2 separate regions of the Homo sapiens genome follow, and region 2 is linked to region 1. Evidence: promoter capture Hi-C in human tissues and cell types (Jung and others, 2019). All regions are on one chromosome and are shown on one strand. The core of a region is centred on a gene start or on the middle of the fragment in contact, and the rest is flanking DNA. Distances in the headings are between cores, read along the strand shown.

Region 1 (7,115 bases), core at 1,537-4,036:
GGGAAGGGTAGTAGGGGTCAGGGGAAGGTGGACACAGTTAACGGGTACCAAAAAAAAAAAAATAGAAGGAATGAATAAGACCTACCATTTGATAGCACAACAGGGTGACTATAACCTGTGATAACAGGTTATTATAGTCAATAATAACTTAATTGTACATTTTTAAATAACTAAGAGTGTAATTAGATTGTGTGTAATACAAAGGATAAATGCTTGGGGGGATGGATACCCCATTCTCCAAGATGTGATTATTACGTATTGCATGCCTGTACCAAAACATCCCATGTACCCCATAAATATATACACCTACTATGTACCCTCAAAAATTAAAAAATAAAGAGTCCCCATACAAAAGATATAAGTCACAGCATCCTTACAAGATAGAGATCAGTGACATGGGCAAGCAACCTCACCTCTTACAGGGGGCATGTACCATCCTTCTATAGTGAAGAAGCATTTCCGTAAGTTAAAATTGAGATGAATCATATGGTTTCAGCCCCTAGAGTATGGTATTTTAGATTCAGGTCTAATTCCATAGAAGGAAGCCCTTACTTTCTTCAGGAATGAGGCAGTTTGCCATTTACCAAGCACGCTGGCCCCACTCATATCCATTTGGAGGACTTCAAATGTTGATGACAAGACTAAAGACCAGGAGCCTGGAATTTTTTACTTTCCGCAGGTAGAGACTGTAAAGCACATTGACGGCAGACTCCTATAAACTAAGAAACTTGTAAACTGGTACCTGGAAGGCAATTAGGCAGAAGTTATCAAGAACTTTATCAAAAGTGCATCCTCTCTGACCTACCAATTGCACTTCCTGGAATGTCAACTAAGAACATGTGCAAAGATTTAGCTTTTTAAAAAGTGATTCACGCTATTATTTATAATAATGAAAAACCAGAAAAAGCCTTAATGGCCCAACACTGGTTGAGCATACTGTGGTACACCCACTATTATACAGGATAATAGCAGGATACAGTAGTATGCATCATTATAAATGATGTAGAAATACATTTATTGACATTGAAACATATTTACAATACACTATTCTGTGAAAAAAGCAAGTTATAAAACAGTATGTGCAGTGTAAACTCATCATTGTTAATAGACAGCAATAAAGATATGCAGAAGAAAAAACTCTGAAAATGTACGCAGAAAAATGTTTATCAGTGGTGGGAAAATGAGTGGTTGTTTTCTTTTTTAAAATTATCTGTATTTTCTGATTTTTTCCCCTTCAATGAACATATAATTAGAAATACTTGTATACTTAGAGATGGTTCTAAAAATAAGCAACCAAACAGTAAATTGCCTTATGTTCAAAGGGGCTCCCACATCTGCACTCCCGCTCTCATATCCGCTAAGCATTTTTTTCCTCAAGGGAGTGACCACCTGCCAGGGCCTCAGAAGATGCCTAGAGACAACGTCTTTCCTCACTCCCAAGCCACTCCAGCCCTGCTGCCTCCAAGGTCAGGTTCAGCGCAAGAGTAGGCTCAGAAACAACTCCGAGCCAGTCCCTGGGTCGCTGCCCCAGAATTTAAGCCCATCCTTCAATTTCCTCAGCAGTCAAATATCCCTGGTCACTTACCTCTCCCGAGGGCAGCGCCCCGCGCTTGACCTCCTCGTAAGCGCCTACCTGCTCCCAGGTGGCCAGGAAGGCGTGGGTGGGGGTAAAGCGCGCAGAGCGCGGGAAGCCAGCGCGCACATAGCGGGCGGCCAGGCCCAGCACTGCGGGGGAGGTGTCCTCTCGGTACAGGACTCGGCCTCTGCCGTGGCTCGTGTCGATGTCCGCCAGAAAAGGGGCGATGGCCGGGAAGTCGGTGGGGAAATCATAGTCCACATACTGCGTTTCCCTGGGGAAGTCCTGAGTGGAGATGATGCCGTTGGTGCCCACCTGGGAGAGGAGAGGGACAAAAAGGTGACAGTCGCTCAAGCCCAAGGACGCTACCCTTTCGCGCAGGGAGGGAAGGGAACTGACTTAGGCAAAAAGCCTCTCTCTCCTTCCCCACTGGCCAGGGAGTCTGGATTCAGGGAAACAAGCGCAACTTTTGCGACTGTCCCAGCTCCGCGCTGCAGTAGGTCCAGGGGCCCTAAAACTCGTTCACCTATCTTCTCACTCCCCTCACAACCCCGGAGCCCCATGTCCTCGGAGAGGAAGCCTCCAGGTCTGAAGAGGGAACACCCCAGCTCCGCAGACGGGCACAGCCTTCTCGCGGTCCTAACTGCAAAGCCCGCTGGCCGCCCTAGCAACGCCACCTTTTCTGCCTGGGACGCGTACGTGGCTGCGAACAATTCTTGCTCTCCCCTCCAGGTCATTCTTGCTCCCCTACAGCAGCGGGGCAGGCAGCGGCATCGCTCTCTGGCCGGGTACCACCGCAAGGGTGCTGGGGGGCTCCAGGAGTGGGGTCTGTTTCCTCCCCTCTGGAGGCAGGGTTTCCGTGAGACCGACCCCAGGGAAGAAGCTGCGGGAAAAGTGCCAGGAGGGGGCTGAACTTACGTAGAGGTTGCTGAATCGGGCTTCGTAGAAGTGCAGGGGATTCGCCAGCTTCACCACGGCTGAGCTTTCGTCGTCGCCTTCCTGCAGGAGCTGGTCCCCCCACGACTCCCCGTGTGGGAAGAGCTCGTCTGGGTGCAGCGCCGCGGCCCGCAACATTAGCAACGGCAGCAGCAGTAGCACTGGTAACGACGACAGCACCGGCCGCCCGGCCACCCGGTCCCCCTCCATGCTCGCTCGGCCGTGCGCTTACCCGCTGCACAACGCGTCCCGCCCCGGCCTCCAGCCCACTCTCCGCGCCGCGCCAGCCTCGAACCTGGATCTCCGCGGGCGCCTGGGCGGGGCGGGACTCCAGGCCCACCCAGCAAGCTAATTGGCTGAGGCCCTCGGCTGGGGACCAATCACCGGCTCTGAGAAAGTTCGGCAGTGGCCACCACATCTGGTTCTCGTTAACTTTTCTAAGGCAGCGGCCGCTGGAGCAGCGGGGCTGGCGGGGTAAAAGCTCCTGGCCAGGGCTGCCTGGAGCTGCCCCTTCCACTCCGCCCCCAGGGAGCTCCCGGGTCATCCTCTCATCCGGGCTGCCCCGCGGCCCCCAAGGAGCCCCACCCCCGGGACCAAATGGCCCGCAAGGTTTGGGGCAGCGGCGTTGCAGGAGATGAGCTCAGCGCAAAGGGAACCCCGCAGCGGCGAGTGCGGCTGCTGGCCTGCGCGCTGTGGCCCCAACAGGCTGGCAGGGCGCGGGCGGGTGGCGGGGTTGCGGTATGAGCTTTGCTCCCTGCCCTGGGGTCCCGGGCGCTCCTGGCTCTGGAGGCCTGGCCATCGGTCCGAAAAGCAAAGGGACATTGTCGTGGTCCCCTCGGCCGCTTCGCTCCACCCAGAGACGCCCTGAGGAGAAGCGAGCCTTTGTACGAAGGCAGAGGGCTGACTCCTAAGTTCTGTCCCCCTCCCGAAGGCCGGCCGCTAGGGAAGACTTGGCCACCCTCTGGAAGTACCTTCCCCCGGGAAAACCGCAGCAGGAAAGACCATGAAATACTACTGTGTGTGATCCGCTCCGTTTGGGGAGTAGGATGAGGCATCCCGCTTGGTTACCAGGCAGAAAGGGGCGAGTCGCGGGGATGGGAAGACCCTGATCTCTTGCCCATTGCTGCGGCCGTCGGAGATGCCCTCCCCCGCGGCCACGGAGGCGGTAACCTGAGCTGCTCCGCAGGACTGGAAACCGCACAACCTCGAAACCAGCTGCGCAGGAGAAGGGGAACCCCATCCACCATAAACATCCCCTCTGCGAAGCCTCAGGAGCTGGAGGAGATTTTATTACCATTTTTATTATCAAGAGCTTAAAATTTCCCAGACAGTCTGTTTTCTCTCCCAGGCCCCCCATGAGGTCCTTAAAAGCAAAGATATTTAAAAAGAACGAAAGAAAGAAAAAAACCAAAAAGCAAATCCTTGGAAATGCCTTAAAGGACTCTCCAGAGACACACTGCTCTTTGTAGGTGTTTATTCCTATGGGCCCACTGGACCAAACGCTAAAAAACGTGAAGACATCAGACTGTGAGACTCATAGAGCAGACACAAAATGGAAAACTGGCCCAAAGCAGTTTGCTTCCTCAGAGTGGAGAGTTGTATATTTGATGTTCCAAAAATATATTTATGCTTGCACATATATTTTCTCATTCTTTCTGGGGTCAGGTATTTTTATTTTACTGAGGATGAAATGAAAGTTCAAAGACAGATGACTTGACTTGCCCAACATCATCTGAAGTTACTCCCTGATATAAAACTACTGGCCCTCTGTAGTTTTACTTTATCTCTCGATTCAGCATAATAATAATAACTAACATTTATTTAGTGGTACTAAGCTATGAGCTTTGGGGCAAGCAAACACTGAGATGGTCTCCAATGATCCCCATTTCCTGGTGTTCATTCCCCTGTATAATCTCTGCCCTGGGAGTGTGGACTGGCCTTGTGATTTCTAACAAACATAGTGTGGCAAGAGTGATGAGAAGAAGGCTAAATAAGATTGTGGCTTCTTCCTTGTTAGTTGACTTTCCCTCTCATTGATTTTGATGAAGCAAGCTGTTATGTCGGGGAGGCCCACATAGCAAGGAACTGAGGAGGGCAGCCTCTGGCCAACAGTCAGCAAGGAACTGAATTCTGCCAACAACCATGTCAGTGAGCTTGGAAACGGATCCTTCCCCAGTTGGGTCTTGAGATGGTATCTCAGCGCTGGCTGACATTTGATTGCAGCCTTGCAAGAGACCCTGAAGCAGAGGACCCAGCTAAGCCAGGTGCAGATTCCAGACCCACCAAAACTGAGAATTATAGTTTTGGTTAGATTATAATTATAGTTTTGGTGGGATTCCAGACCAACCAAAACTGAGAATTACAGCTTCAGCTTCAGAAGCTGAAGAAGCTGTGTGTTGCTTTAAGCTATTACATTTTGGGATAATTTGTTATGCAGCAATAGACAACTGATAACAGGTAGTCGTTGTGTTAAGGAAACTAAAGCTCAGATGGGATTTTAAAAAAATCAGTTATTATCACATGGCTGGTAAGTACCAAAGCTGAGATTTGAACCCAATTCTGTCTGATCTCTAAACCTCCACTCCTAACCACTAAATTATATTGCAGCAAGGCCCTTTGGAAAGTAGCTCTAGTTTATGTCTCTAACTTTATCTCCCGTCACAGCCACCCTGAAGTCTCACCTGAAGCTGAGACTTTAATTCTCCAATACAACATCCTCACAGGTAAGTCCTTTTACCTACAGTAAAAGGTCAATTTCTTGGTCAATTTCAAGCCAACACCTTCTCATCTTTAAGGCTTGAATCAAAACCCTCCTCCTTCAGGAATCTGGGAAGAGAAAAGAATTCCCCACATCTTTTGCAAAAATCTCATTAATAATCCACCCCATTTAGCTTATAATCAATAAATAACCATAAGTATAATCAGTCAAGCAGCCGACGCCACTGCTCTGCCTATTCTTTTGTTTCTTTACTTATCTAATAAAGTCACTTTCACTTTACTTTGTAGACTCACTCCAAATTCTTTCTTGCACCAGATCCAGGAGCCCTCTCTTAGGGTCTGGATCAGGAACTCTTTCCAGTAACACTACTGCCCCCTTTTGAGCTATGTATTCATCCTTGAAACTGCTTGCTATTGCCACAAGTAACTATACATTAACCTAATAATGTCACACTGGACACTATCACTCATAGCCTATAGCTTAACAGTGCATAGCCAATCAGTGAGCAATGTTGTTTCTGTAAACCAATGTGAATTCCTTACAAACAATTTCATATCGGCCTACTCCCTGTCCCCCTTTTCTGCCTGTAAAAAACCTGCTTGTAATAAAGGCGGCATGAAGCTCATATCCAGGGTTACTTGGGTCTAAGTCTTCCGGGCAACTGTCCTCACTTTGGCTCAAGTAAATGTTTTGTTATATTTTGTGCCTCTGTCTTTTCCTTTCAGGTGGACGAAGCTTTCCTGGAATCCACAGTCTGATTTAGAAGCCCTTTCTCCTTGCTTCCATGTGCCCTGTGCTTGCCGTGATCATACCTCCTATCACACATCTCTCCCATAATCCTGATCTCCACATGCTTCCCTTACCACCACCACCACCACCACCACCACCACACCTGGAGGGCAGGGATTTTGCCTTCTTCAGTGTCTGCCGCAATGCCTGCCTGGCTCACTTGAAGTGTAAGAAATGTTTGTTGAATGAGTGAAGACAAGCAAGCCAGCCTGGGACTAGGACCCATGTCTGCTGGCTCAGAATGCAACATTCTTTCCCCTACACCACCTTTCCTGCTAATCTGACCTGACTCTTGTAATCCTCTTTACCAGGCTGCCTAGCAACTCACCTACCACTGCTCTCCCATTTTTGTCATTCTTTCATTCATTCATCCATTCAACAACAATTTCCTGAAAGTACACCATGACAAACACAACTCTGCAAGAAATAAAGGAGTACAAAATGTGGCCCCTGACCTTAAAGAGCTCATGATCTGGTTGGGGAAACAGAGCATAAGAGGATGTCACTAGTTTTGAATCTGATGCAATCTGAGTACAAAAAAATAGTTCCAATAGAGAAGATGCTAAAACGAACAGTTTTGTTTTCCTGTCTGCATAAAGTGGCTGAATTCTCCCTGAAATAGGAGGCTTTGGACAGCTGTGCTTAAGAGAACATGCCTTTGAGCTTTTATTCTGATATTATTTTTAAAAGACGCTATGGCACCAAGAGTGGTTTCTTCTTTAAAATGTCATTTTGTGTCTTGGGGAAAAAGAAAAAAATCTGCCGTGGCTCTTTCACCAGTCAAAGTAAATACTGAAGAAATACTTTGCTTGTATCCACAGCTCTCTTTGCAAGAGTAGAATTTCCATGACCTGCCAGACTGGCTGAAGAGGCAAAGGCCCCTTTCAGGCTGGGGGTTATAGAGGACGTCTGTAGCAGTTTTTACCCTTCTTGGATTGGATCCTCAGGGTACATCACAGCATTGCTTGAAAAGTAAGATTATTTAGATACAGGGCTTTTCATCAAGCCAAGGATGCTACCAGATGCCTTGCCAATAGACCTTATCAAGAGTCTCCACAGTTACATATTTTTTGTGGTTATATTGTTGTTATAAAT
Region 2 (7,115 bases), core at 3,273-5,772, 500 kb after region 1:
TGTCTTGCCATCAGAGAGGTTGAGATTTCTAAACACTTAAACCTAGATCCCCTCTTCTTTCCAAGTGATCACATCCACTTTCGTGACATCATGCCACTTAAAAACAGATGACTCACACTTATCTCCGATCCTTACTCACCCATACTACTCTGAGCTGGCTCTGTAGATTCTGCACTGATTTGACATCTTCATGGTATCTGATGCACTCAGATTCAACATGATCTTTCTTCCTCCTCTCCCACCCTACACCTATATGCATCAAAACCTGGTTCTTGAACCAGGCACAGTTCTGCCTGTAATCCCAGCAACTTGGGAGGCTGAGGTGGCAGCATCACTTGAGCCCAGGAGTTCGAGGCTGCAGTAAGCAATGTTTGCGCCACTGTACTCCAGCCTGGATTACAGAGCAAGATCCCAACTCAAAAACACACACACACACAACTTGGTTCTCCTCTTTTGTTCCCCATTTCCGTGACTAGTATTTATATCCAATTATCTATATAATTCAGAAACGTGAGTCCTTCTCAATATTCTTTCTCCCTCATTACGCACATTCACTGCATCACCAAATCCTGTTACCTCCTAACATCTCTTAAGTCCATTCACTTCTTCCCTTCAAAATGCCTGGTCCAGGCTACTAGCATGTATTGACTAGTCCATGGCAGTTAGCCTTCTAATTGGTGTGTCTGTATACCCTGGCCCCCACAGGCCCATTCTCCACAGTGTTGCCAGAGTTTTTTGGAACAAAAATCTATTATAAAAGCCCCACCCAACCAGGCACGGTGGCTCACACCCGTAATCCCAGCACTTTGGGAGGCCAAGGCAGGCAGATCACGAGGTCAGCAGTTTGAGACCAGCCTGGCCAATATGGTGAAACCCCATCTCTACTAAAAAATACAAAAATTAGCTGGGTGTGGTGGCACACACCTCTAGTCTCAGCTACTCGGGAGGCTGAGGCAGGAGAATTGCTTGAACCTGGGAGGCAGAGGTTGCAGTGAGCCGAGATCGCATCACTGCACTCCACCCTGGGCAACAGAGTGAGACTTCGTCTCAAAAAAAAAAAAAAAAAAGCCCCACTCCTAGATTTCTCCATTGGATCTAGTTACTCATTAGAATAGAGAGAGTTCTATGTATACTACAAGTCACTTCATGGTTCCAGCCTAATTTCAAACTATGCTCCTCATTCCTCACCATTCCAGCCACATTAAACATTATTTTAGTCCTCTACTTGCCATATTCCTTCTGCCACAGAGCCATTCCATATTCTTTTCCTGCTACTTAGAATGTTCTTTCCTCCTCCTTTGCTTAGTTAACTCTCAACTCCAGGGCACAGTGCTTCTTCAAGGAAGCCTTCACTCAACTACTCAAGTTAGATTCCAAAATTATAGACTAGTAGAGGAGCATTATGCTGCTCTTCTTCATATCATTTGCACAGTTGGAATTTTATATTTGTGTGACTTTTTTGTGTGAGCTTACTAGATTGGTAAGCACTATAGGAATAAGGACCAAGTCTGTTCTTGCTGTATTAGGTATTGGTACCTAATTTAACATCTGATGTGTATTAGGTGTTCAGTAAATATTGAATGAAGTTCTTGTTCACCATATCCCAAATAGCATAGTGAGGAGGAATCCCTGAATATATAATTTCACAGCAGAATTTGGTCTACCCTTTTCTTCCTTCTCTTTTCCCACTTATCTACCTCCTCCCTTCAAAAAAAAAATGCTTGCTTTAAAACAAAAGTCCCAAAATCAGATGCCTAGAGGGACCTGAATGCTACAACCTCGGAGAGAGAATAGGGGAGTGTTGGTGTTTGTGGTGAATCGGAAAGCACGTGTTTAAAGAGGACAATCACATTAATTCAGTTCCAGCTATGAGATTACATTGTCAAATCATCTGATTTTTCAAGAGAAATCACAAATTTGAATTTCTTAAAATGAGAAATCTACTTTTTAAATAATGACGGGATTTTCAAGTATGTTAAAAATACTGTAGGCTAATACCGAATAAGCTAAGCAAAACTTTTGTGGATCAAACCGAAACCATGGGCTATTTTCTTCTCCTCCTCTTCCTCCTCCTTCTCATAGGAATAAAACAACTAAATATAATCCTGTCTTTATAATTTCCATATACCAAGCTTTAATTATATTTAATACCCATCAAAGTTAGTTAAAATGAACTCTGAGTAATTTATACCTTATGGAAAAATTACGGTGTTCTAAGTCTGACCAAATGTGTAGAAAGTACCATATTATCTTTGGATATGCCATCTATGTCTGCTTTGCCCCACTATACTACATATTGCTTTAGATCAGCCACTATTTTACATTTATTTCAAAAGAAATTTTGCATACCCTTCAACACCTAGCACTGTTATATATGTGGTCAGTGCTTAATGACTTGGAGTAAATTAGTGGTAAAGTAAGGGAATTTAAAAGTAGCATTTTCTTCTTTCCACCTCCACAAACAAAATCAGAATCTAACTTCATGGAACATTTCATCTAATTTGTTTTAAATAAAGACAAACTTCTAAAAATTAAGTGTCCTTGTAATCTTATTATTTTAACTTTGGTAAAGGGGTATGTTTAAGATAGTACATCATGAATGGCCCTGAACAAGGAATCTGGGAACCAGAATTCTAGTCCAAATTCTGCTTTATATGAATAATTGATATTTGCAAATCATTATTTTTCTGGGCCAGTTGTATAATTTGTAAAGTGGTTAGTCTCAGTGATATCTAAGATACCTTGAATTCTAGTATGCTGATACTAATAAAGCAATGCAGAATTTGAGAATTTTTGCTTAAACTCCTTAGTACCTAGTTCTGTGATCTAATACAGTATCTCAATTCTGTCTCTGAGATATAGATGCCAGTTAAACAGAGTTATACATAACACGTTAAAACTGATCAAAATTTATTTAGGACCCAGGGATCATCATCCTTCTAGAATAATATTTCAAATTTGTACCTTCTCTTCTCTTACAAAAACTCAATTACAGCTACCATTTTCATTAGCATATTAATCACACTCTACAATTTGTTTTTCCAGCCTCAGTCTTCTCAGAGTATAAAAAAGCTTAAATATTTTCTTAAAAATTTGTACTCTCCTCAGCTACTATGTAGGATCCAGTCATTTGAGCTGGTTTGAGGTGGTGTAGTGTATACTCTAAGGAGAATATAAACTTTTATCCCTTTATAGCCCTATTTTAGGTTGTTTCATTGGTCAGGAGCCCCTTGTATTTTTTCTCTCTCCAAGAGCTTTTGTGGAAGAGAAAGTTCAATGTGAGGGCTGAGGCTGTTAAGTGCCCAATTGGCATTTTTTTAAAAAATCTATTCTGAAAAGAATGGGACATTAAACAGCAGGACTGACAGCAGTAACTTAAGTCAGAATAGAGCATATATACTTGGCAGTAGCAGGAAATCCTTTTGCCCAAAGTAGAAAAAGTGATATGATTACCTGCTAGGAGCATTATACATACGTTTTTAGACATGAATTAACAGGCTAGAATCAGTCATGGTTAAAGGCACCTACATTTTTAAATGGATGGTAGATTTTCCAGGTTTTGTAAACTGGATGTTATAGGGATACCATTAGAACACTGGATACAGGCCAGGTGCAGTGGCTCACGCCTGTAATCCCAGCACATTGGGAGGCTGAGGCGGGTGGATCATCTGAGGTCAGGAGTTTGAGACCAGCCTGGCCAACATGGTAAAACCCTGACTCTACTAAAAATACAAAAAATTAGCTGAGCATGGTGGTGTGTACCTGTAATCTCAACTACTTGGGAGGCTGCGGCAGGAGACTCACTTGAACCCGGGAGGTGGAGGTTGCAGTGAGCCAAGATCACACCACTGCACTCCAGCCTGGGTGACAAAGTGAGACACCGTCTGAAAAAAAAGAAAAGAACTCTGGATATGGAGGTATTAGGTAGTTAAGAACTTGGGCACTGGAGTCCCATTCCTTGGACCCTTGCTAAGTGACCTTAAGTGCGTAACTTCTCTGTATCATAGTTTCTCCATCTGTACCTACCTCATGGGGTTGTGAAGTTAAATAGAATAATACTTTAAATAGCAGAACATAATAAGACTCAAATGGTAGCTATTATTATTTTAGAAAAAAAGAAAAGAGCATCTCTAAAATTAAGATTTTCCTCTGCCACCTTTCTTACATATAAACTTTAGACAATATGATAAACACTTTTTCTAATTTATGGTAATATTTGAGATACCTTTATTTCTTTACTGTATGATTAAGATAGGTTTGTAGGTATTCTCACCTTTTAGGTCATGGATTTGTCCTAAACCACATTAGAAATTAGAAGGATTGGAAGGCAGGTCTTCTGACTACACTGCTTTTTCTGTCGTACTCTAGAATAAGCAGTTGTAAGCTATTGTCAGCGTTCATCACTGCTTACATTCAGATTGTTCTTTTTTTTTTTGGTTTTTTTTTTTTTTTGAGACAGAGAATCGCCCTGTTACCCAGTCTCTTGTGCAGTGGCGTGATCTCTGCTCACTGCAACCTCTGCTTCCCAGGTTCAAGTGATTTATCTGCCCCAGCCTCCCGAGTAGCTGGGATTACAGGTGCGTGCCTCCACGCCTGGCTAATTTTTGCATTTTTAGTAGAGACAGGGTTTCACCATGTTGGTCAGGCTGGTCTCGAACTTCTGACCTCGTGATCTGCCCGCCTGGGTCTCCCAAAGTGCTGGGATTACAGGCGTGAGCCACCGCGCCTGGCTGAGATTGTTCTTAAGAAATCCAGATTAACTACCTGGTGGCTGGCAAGATGGCCAAATAGGAACAGCTCCAGTCTGCAGCTCCCAGGGAGATCCCAGGGAGATCAGCGCAGAAGGTGGGTGATTTCTGCATTTCCAACTGAGGTACCTGGCTCATCTCATTGGGACTGGTTAGACAGTGGGTGCAGCCCATGGAGGGTGAGCAGAAGCAGGGTGGGGCGTCACCTCACCCGGGAAGCCCAAGGGGTCAGGGAACTCCCTCCCCTAGTCAAGGAAAGCCATGAGGGACTCTGCCTTGAAAAATGGTGCATTCCAGCTCAGATACTATGCTTTTTCCACGGTCTTCCCAACCTGCAAACCAGGAGATTCCCTTGGGTGCCAACACCACCAGGGCCCTGGGTTTCAAGCACAAAACTGGTTGGCTGTTTGGGTGGACACTGAGCTAACTGCAGGAGTTTTTTTTTCATACCCCGGTGGCACCTGGAACACCAGCGAAACAACCGTTCACTCCCCTGGAAAGGGGGCTGAAGCCAGGGAGCCAAGTGGTGTAGCTCAGTGGATCCCACTCCCATGGAGCCCAGCAAGCTAAGATCCACTAACTTGAAATTCTTGCTACCAGCACAGCGAGACCTGAGACACTGGAGCTTGGTGGGGGGAGGGGGCATCCGCAATTACTGTGTAGAGTAGGCGATTTTCCCCTCAGGGTGTAAACAAAGCCACCTGGAAGTTAGAACTGGGCGGAGCCAACCGCAGCTCAGCAAAGCCAATGTAGCCAGACTGCCTCTGTAGATTTCTCCTCTCTGAGCAGGGCATCTCTGAAAGAAAGGCAGCAGCCCCAGTCAGGGGCTTATAGAGAAAACTCCCATATCCCTGGGACAGGGCACCTGGGGGAAGGGGCGGCTGTGGGCACAGCTTCAGCAGACTTAAACATTACTGCCTGCCGGCTCTTAAGAGAGCAGCGGATCTCCCAGCACAGCGCTTGAGCTCTGCTAAGGGACAGACTGCCTCCTCAATTGGGTCCCTGACCACTTTGCCTCCTGACTGGGAGATACCTCCCAGCAAGGGGCGACAGACACCTTATGCAACAGGAGAGCTCCGGCTGGCATCTGATGGGTGCCCGTCTGGGACGAAGCTTCCAGAGGAAGGTACAGACAGCAATCTTTGCTGTTTGGCAGCCTCCGCTGGTGATACCCAGGCAAACAGGGTCTGGAGAGGACCTCCAGCAGACCTGCACCGGAGGGGCCTGACTGTTAGAAGGAAAACTAACAAACAGAAAGGAATGGCATCAACATCAACAAAAAAGGACATCCATGCAAAAACCCCATCTGAAGAGCACTGGCGTCAAAGACCAAAGGTAGGTAAATCCATGAAGATGAGGAAAAACCAGTGCAGAAAGGCTGAAAATTCCAAAAAAAAAAAATGCATCTACTCCTCCAAAGGATCACAACTCCTCACCAGCAAGGGAACAAAACTGGATGGAGAATGAGTTTGACAAATTGACAGAAGTAGGCTTCAGAAGGTGGATAATAACGAACTCCTCCAAGCTAAAGGAGCATGTTCTAACCCAATGCAAGGAAGCTAAGAACCTTGAAAAAAGGTTAGAGGAATTGCTAGCCAGAATAACCAGTTTAGAGAAGAACATAAATGACCTGATGGAGCTGAAAAACAGCATGAGAACTTCGTGAAGCATACACAAGTATCAATAGTCAAATCTATCAAGCAGAAGAAAGGATATCAGAGATTGAAGATCAACTTAATGAAATAAAGCGTGAAGACAAGATTAGAGAAAAAAGAATGAAAAGGAATGAACAAAGCCTCCAAGAAATATGGGACTATGTGAAAAAGACCAAACTTATGTTTGATTGGTGTGCCTGAAAGTGAAGGGGAGAATGAAAACACTCTTCAGGATATTATCCTGAAGTGGGAAAACACTCTTTAGGATATTATCCTGAAGTGGGAAAACACTCTTCAGGATATTATCCACGAGAACGTCCCTAACCTAGCAAGACAGCCAACATTCAAATTCAGGAAATGCAGAGAACACCACAAAGATACTCCACAAGAAGAGCAATGCAAGACACATAATCATCAGTTTCACCAAGGTTGAAATGAAGGAAAAAATGTTAAGGGCAGCTAGAGAGAAAGGTCGGGTTACCCACAAAGGGAAGCCCATCAGACTAACAGCATATCTCTCTGCAGAAACCCTATAAGCCAGAAGAGAGTGGGGGCCAATATTCCAACATTCTTGAAGAAAAGAATTTTCAACCCAGAATTTCATATCCAGCCAAACTAAGCTTTGTAAGTGAAGGAGAAATAAAATCCTTTACAGACAACCAAATGCTGAGAGAGTTTGTCACCACCAGGCCTGCCTTACAAGAGCTTCTGA

Evidence for each region. The method cuts DNA at HindIII sites, captures the fragments that hold promoters and counts their contacts. A contact is called where the count stands out against the background at its distance.
Region 2: a fragment that was not itself captured here is called in contact with the fragment with the promoter of NID2 in region 1 in 1 of the 25 tissues and cell types used here (spleen).

Annotation. Positions count from the first base shown.
Region 1 is chr14:52,066,273-52,073,387 of GRCh38, forward strand. It overlaps NID2 (nidogen 2), which reads right to left and starts at 2,787. Exons shown (of 22, transcript NM_007361.4): 1 at 2,495-2,787; 2 at 1,586-1,891. The coding sequence starts at 2,722. LOC105378180 (a long non-coding RNA gene) reads left to right here and starts at 2,964. Exons shown (of 2, transcript XR_943864.4): 1 at 2,964-5,235; 2 at 5,957-7,115. The HindIII fragment of the contact is 10,101 bases long and covers 1-6,731 here.
Region 2 is chr14:52,563,226-52,570,340 of GRCh38, forward strand. The region is part of intron 1 of GPR137C (G protein-coupled receptor 137C); the gene reads left to right. Among named protein-coding and RNA genes, the nearest start is that of GPR137C, 14 kb to the left of the region's middle. RefSeq lists enhancers at 4,502-5,217, 5,218-5,933. The HindIII fragment of the contact is 3,840 bases long and covers 2,603-6,442 here.